Linked DNA regions of Homo sapiens: region 2 is linked to region 1. Evidence: promoter capture Hi-C in human tissues and cell types (Jung and others, 2019). All regions are on one chromosome and are shown on one strand. Each heading gives the region's core, a stretch centred on a gene start or on the middle of the fragment in contact. The rest is flanking DNA. Distances are from core to core; before and after follow the strand shown. Region 1 overlaps SZT2 (SZT2 subunit of KICSTOR complex). Region 2 holds the start of HYI (hydroxypyruvate isomerase (putative)).

The links. Contacts are between HindIII fragments. The study calls those that stand out against the background at their distance.
Region 2: a contact is called between the fragment with the promoter of HYI here and a fragment that was not itself captured in region 1, in 2 of the 25 tissues and cell types used here (H1 embryonic stem cells and pancreas).

Annotation. Positions count from the first base shown.
Region 1 is chr1:43,419,139-43,422,142 of GRCh38, forward strand. It overlaps SZT2 (SZT2 subunit of KICSTOR complex), which reads left to right. Exons shown (of 72, transcript NM_001365999.1): 8 at 596-806; 9 at 1,015-1,185; 10 at 1,611-1,845; 11 at 2,036-2,165; 12 at 2,945-3,004. Among named protein-coding and RNA genes, the nearest start is that of MIR6735, 28 kb to the right of the region's middle. The HindIII fragment of the contact is 6,068 bases long and covers 1-3,004 here.
Region 2 is chr1:43,452,434-43,455,437 of GRCh38, forward strand. It overlaps HYI (hydroxypyruvate isomerase (putative)), which reads right to left and starts at 1,498. Exons shown (of 8, transcript NM_001190880.3): 1 at 1,162-1,498; 2 at 953-1,064. The coding sequence starts at 1,360. It overlaps SZT2 (SZT2 subunit of KICSTOR complex), which reads left to right. Exons shown (of 72, transcript NM_001365999.1): 72 at 1-1,814. It overlaps HYI-AS1 (HYI antisense RNA 1), which reads left to right and starts at 1,494. Exons shown (of 2, transcript NR_174945.1): 1 at 1,494-1,620. RefSeq lists an enhancer at 1-274 and silencers at 1,065-1,124, 1,235-1,534. The HindIII fragment of the contact is 20,604 bases long and covers 1-3,004 here.

The DNA of each region.
Region 1 (3,004 bases), core at 173-2,672:
TGAAGCGTGAAAGCAGCCACAGACAATACAAAATGAATGTGTGTGGCTGTGTTCCAATAAAACTCGATTCACAAAAATAGGTGATGGACTAGATTTGGCCCTCAGGGTATATGTAGTTTGCTAATTTCCCACCTACAGCTATTGTATTCAAAATGTAGTCCACAGACCAGCAGAAAGCTTGTTTGAAATGCAGAATCTCAGGCCCCACCCCAGACCTACTGCATTTTAACAAAATCCCCAGGTGTTTTTCATACACCCTAAAGTTTGAGAAGTGTTGGTAAGCTGAAGTCTCTCAGGATGATGACAGGAAGTCAGTGAACCAGTTGCCAAAATCTTTAGTGAAGGAGGTGGTGGGCCTTTAGGTATCGAGGAGGAAGCAAAGAGGATGCTGTGGCCGGTTAGCATGGGCATCAGACAGAAGGGCTTAAGGAAGGAAAGACACAGACAGTGGTCTGTCCTGGGAAAACACTGGCCTACTTCCCACTCTGTGGTCCAGGGAATGGGAGCAGCCACCTAGCCCAGTCTCTTTCTCTCCTGTTCTTCCTTCTCCTATGCCTCTGTCAGAGCTAGGTCTTCAGTTGCTCACTTTTTCCAGGTGGGAGGAGTTTACTCTTATGACTGCAGTTTTGGCCATGTGCCCAATGTGGAATTAATGAAGTTCATCGCAATGGCAACATTTGGGTCCTACCTGTCCACTTGTCCTGAGCCGGAGCCAGGCAACCTGGGTCTGACTGTCTACCACCGGGCATTTCTCCTCTATTCCTTCCTGCGCAGTGGGGAAGCACTGAACCCTGAATATTACTGCGGTGAGAGGCACACTGAGGTGGGTGTGGGAAGGAGGGAATATAGAATGGGCCCAGAGATGATGGGGCCCTGGAGGACTGAAAGTGTAACTGGGGCTGGCTCTGCTGGCACTGTTACCTCACAGTCATTTCAGCATAGCCCCTTCCCCCTACAGATCTGTCAGTTGGCAGATAACCAGTTTCTCCTTCCCCATCTCCACTGGTCTTCCAGGCTCTCAGCACCGCCTATTTAATGAGCACCTGGTCTCTGCAAGCAGCAACCCTGCCCTGGCCTTGCGCCGGAAGAAGCACACTGAGAAGGAGGTGCCAGCCGACTTGGTCAGCACTGTGTCCGTACGGCTTCGAGAGGGCTACAGTGTCCGAGAGGTCACACTGGCCAAAGGTAAGGGTCATTAGGCCCTGCTGTAATCCCATAGATCTCTCAAGAATTTGTGTGTGGGAAGACCCACATGTATCACACATGAAAGAGTGTCACATTGAAGTCCTTATCACTTGAGACAGTGGGTTTTGAATTGTCATCAGGGCTTAATTCTCTTAGCATGGAGCTTCCCAATTCTATCTCCTTTTGCCCAAGGTGAACCAGCTGAGGGTGGTATAGGGTCCTGAACTTGGCTTAGTTTTCAGATTGTTTCTACAAACTTGTGTTTGTGTCAGTGGGCCAACTCTGGGCCTGAAACCTGTGGAACCATGCTTGGAACCTTTGGCAGGACTGGGTTCCATGAGGTAGGTGGGGGTTTCAGATAGAACTCGATCCCAGGCCTAGAGTCCTATGCCTTCTCCTAACTGGCCCTTCCGCTTCTCCCTAAGGAGGGTCCCAATTGGAGGTAAAGCTGGTGCTGCTGTGGAAACACAACATGCGCATTGAGTATGTGGCTATGGCACCCTGGCCCCTGGAGCCTGAGGGCCCTCGAGTAACACGGGTGGAAGTGACGATGGAAGGCGGCTACGACATTTTGCATGATGTGTCCTGTGCACTAAGGCAGCCCATTCGTTCATTGTATCGTACCCATGTTATCCGGCGTTTCTGGAACACGCTGCAGAGGTCAGTGAAGTCATCACTCAATGAGTGCTGCCCCATTTGTTGTATGGAGGGACAGATTTGCAAAGGCGGGAGCTGGGGAGCATCACCCAGAGAACCAGGCTTATATCCAGGGTCCCATGTCCCCCTAAGGCTCCCCTCATCTGCACCCAGCAGAGTCAGATATGGCTCAGGCCTGGCCCTTATTCTACAGCATCAACCAGACAGACCAGATGCTTGCCCACCTTCAGTCCTTCTCCTCAGTGCCTGAGCATTTCACGCTTCCTGACAGCACCAAGAGCGGAGTGCCACTCTTCTACATCCCTCCAGGCTCCACCACCCCGGTGAGTAGCTCTGAAGTATAGTAGCCCCATTTCATGTCAACTTGGGTTGCACAGCATCTGGAGCCCAGGACCACCACCTTCTATTCCTTTCTGTCTCACGTCTAAGGCACCTAAGCCAGAAGCCCAAGCTTTAACCTTGAGAGCTTCTCTTCTCCCTAAGGCCCCGGGGAAGAGGAGGATCTATACAGACAGGCTGTCCTGAACAGAGCACAGGTGGCAGAGGCAAAGACTCACACAGTGTCTAGGTGGTGGTATCCCAGTCCCAGCAGACCGTGAGCCCTTGCCCCATCTCCACGTGACATACTCTGGGCTTCCCCAGCCGCCTTCACCTGTGTGCATCCACCACCAGCCACCATGAACTGTGTACTCCCTGAAGACTACAGCTTCCTTGGTCCTGTGCTGTCTTCACACTCAGTCCACGCTGTCAGCCTAACACTGATGGGAAGGTGGCTTATGCTAGTGTGCAGTGGCCACATCATGAGGTCCTGCCACCATTTAGGGGCTTTTCTCCCAAGTCGGTGACATAAGCTGGGCTTATGGTTCCATCCTTCTGGATTCAGCTTTAAAGGGCTACACAGTCTGTCCCTGGGCTCAGTCATCCAAATCTAGCCTTCATAGTGGAAACAGTTTTTGCCTGTGCTTCAGGCTGGGCTGTAGCCTCAAACCACTGCTGTCTCTGACTCTCTGAACGGAGTCCACCCATGGTTTTGTTTGCTCTTTGGAGTTTGTACCCTGGTCCTCTGCAAATGCTCCTATAGTGCTGTCCTTCCTGTCCTCAGGTGCTCTCCCTCCAGCCCAGTGGTTCTGACTCATCCCATGCCCAGTTTGCTGCCTACTGG
Region 2 (3,004 bases), core at 248-2,747, 33 kb after region 1:
CCTGGGTCACGATGCCCAGGTATCCCAGCACTTTCAGAGACACTTCAGTGATGGCTGAGGGGCAAGCCCTTTCCCAGACATCTCAGTGTCCACCCACCGCCTCCTGCCTCCAGTACTTTCCAAAACCTTTCCTTCCCTCGGTCCTTCTCCGCAACCTGTAACCTGCTAAATTCTCACCTTTAAAAATTGTCCTGACCTTTGCTTGCCCTTCTCAGGTATTCCATGCTGCTGTCTCTACTTCCTCTCCTCGCATCTACTTAGCCTTTTCCCATCTGTTTTCTGCCCCCACCATTGACCAGTAGTGATCCCCTCTTGCCAGTTCCTTCTGAGCCTGTTTGGCCTCTGCAGGATTTGACATTTGAATCAGCCCCACTTTGAGCCGTCCACCTCCTCCCATCATCCCCTGATCTTAGCCACATCCAGCTCCAAGCAGACATTCCAGGCCTCCCCATCCCAACAGGCTACATACATGTCCAGCCTCAGGAACGCTGCCAAATACACCAGGCCTCCTCTTGCCACAGCACCCTTGCAAGGAACACTCAACTTCCTGCCCATCAAGCAATGCCCACTCCTTGAAGACAGTCCAAGCATCACTACCTGTAAGCAGCTTTCTCTGATCCAGACAGGGTTAGGTGCCTACCCTGCTCCCACAGCTTCCTGGAATAGGCCTGTCCTCAAATGCATCACTGTATATATTTACTCTCCTATCTGCCTAGGCAGACTGAGCTCCCAGCATGGGATCCCAGCATGGGGTGAGCATGAAAGAGTGGCAAACAGAGTGGCATAAGACAGATAAAATACAAAAGGCAATTTACAAAGGACCAGGACCGCAGAGGCAGAGATAAACCAGTGGGCTCAGACTTCTGAGCGTCTCAGATCTGGCGTCCTCGACTCCCTGAACCTGCATCAGGGTCATGGGTCACAGGGGTGGGGGTGGGGTGGAGCGGGGTACCTGGGACAGCCCAGGGCTTTGGCATACCGCACGGCCTGCTCCAGTCCCTCTCGGAAGGCCGCCTGTCTCCCGGGGACGGCCCCCAGCCCCATTTCCCCCTTCTCTTGGTCTCCTGCAGAGAGAACGGGCCTCAGCCCCCGGCTCGGACACTCCCCTGCCCGCGCCCCGGCACCCCCCAGCCCTCCCAGCCCTCCCGGCCCGCGACGCACCCGGGGGCGTGTTGATCAGTACAAGCCGCAGCCCCGCTTCTCGCGCGGCGCGCGCCAGCGCCTCAGGCGTCTCCGCGTACGGCCAGGCCACCTCGACGGCCTCGAAGCCCGAGCTGCCCGCGGCCCGCACCCGCGCGGGGAGGCCGGAGAGCTCGGGGAATAGCCAGGACAGATTGGCGGAGAAGCGCAGCGGCGCCATGCCTGGGGAGGCCGGGCCGGGCGGAGTCCGCGGGATCCAAAGGCGGCGGGCGGCGGGCGGCGGGCGGCGGGCGGGGGCGGGGCTCTCCTTGCTGGCCCTGCGAACGAACGAGCACTGTTCGTGGTTAGAAAAGCGAAGTGCTGTAAAAACCCGGGCCTTCACGAAAAGCGCCTACGGTTAGCGAGAGAGGGATCACGGGGAGAGGCGAAGGGGCGGAGCGAGGGCGGCCGGAAAAGGAGCAGGACCCGCGCCTGGAGAAGGTAGGGAGGCCGAGCTCCAGGGCCTGAGAGCCGGACGCGAAGCAAGAGAGAGCTGGCTGCCCGAGGGCCCGGTTGCAATGATGGGACGCGCACTTTAATACTGAGTCTTTCCTCTGATTATAAAAATGCTATCTGTTCGTTAAGCAACATTTGAAAGCTGTATGACCAAATAAAGAAGCACTTTTATACCGCCAGTTATCACACCACTAGCCTGTTGGCTTTCCCGTCCAAATTTTAAAATATGCAATTTTTTTCTTTGGAAATTCTGATCATTCGGTATATGCTGTTTTATAGCTCTTTTTCATGGAATATTATTTTGTGAGCATTTCCTCGTGTTTTCCAATAGCCTTCAAAGTCAGTGCCTTCGCTGCTCATTGTCGCACACCTAAGCAGCAAGTCATTATTGTACTTTGTGGTTGGATATCGTGTGTGTGCACGCGCGCTGCAAGCGCACTTTCAGGCACTTCTTAGTCCCTATCTCTGACTCTTTTCCGAGTCTTTTTCTAGAGATGTCCATCACAGTGTTTGCCCGTTCACGCCGCTAGTCTTTTGCAAGGGAAACCGCCCCATTGGAGCAGCTATGGGTGAGCTGTCCCTTTTTAGCCTTAGCCTCAGCTGATTGGACCAGGGAGGTCATCTGATCCCAGGGCAGCCAATCCATAGACTGGCCAAAAACCTCTTACTTGCGTCGTTTGGAAAGGTAATTTAACCAATCAAGAGTTCAAACAAGGAAATGCTGAGAGTCAACAGGTGGTGTTGCCAGAAGGTGACTGGGCTGTAGAAACGAAATAAGACAGTCCTATGGTAAAGAAAAGCTAGAGCGGAAAGGAGGGGAACCAAGTCCTGTGAATAGAGGTAGCACCCTGAGAAACCCATGTCATCCCAAGGGTGCCCAAACCCATAGCTGCCCCCAGGTCTGTGCACTTAAGGCTGGGATGCTTAGACTTTCCTGGGTTTCTGTCTCTGTATAGCCTCTTAATGTTTCTTGAGATAATTTGAATGATTTTACTTTCATCTACAATAACCCAACTGATTGGGCAGGTTCTTATGGGTAGAATTACATGGTCAAAAATAGGAACATATTTAAGTTGTTGATATCTTAAATTTCCTTTGAAAAATATAAATTTATATCCCAACAATTCATGAGTAAACGTCATCTTGATCTATCGTCTGTGCTAACTTTGACAGAGAAGCTTAAAGTGCAACATTAGGAACACCCAGCTCCCACTGATTGTTCTGTCAACACTCAACTCCATCTCAAATGAGGCCAGCTCAGACACCAGGGATCCAGCCTGATCCCGTGGTGAACCCAAATTCTTGGCAGGTTCTGTTTCTTCAGCTCTGCCTCCAAGAACAGACTGCTGCCAGCTGACACTGATCACCT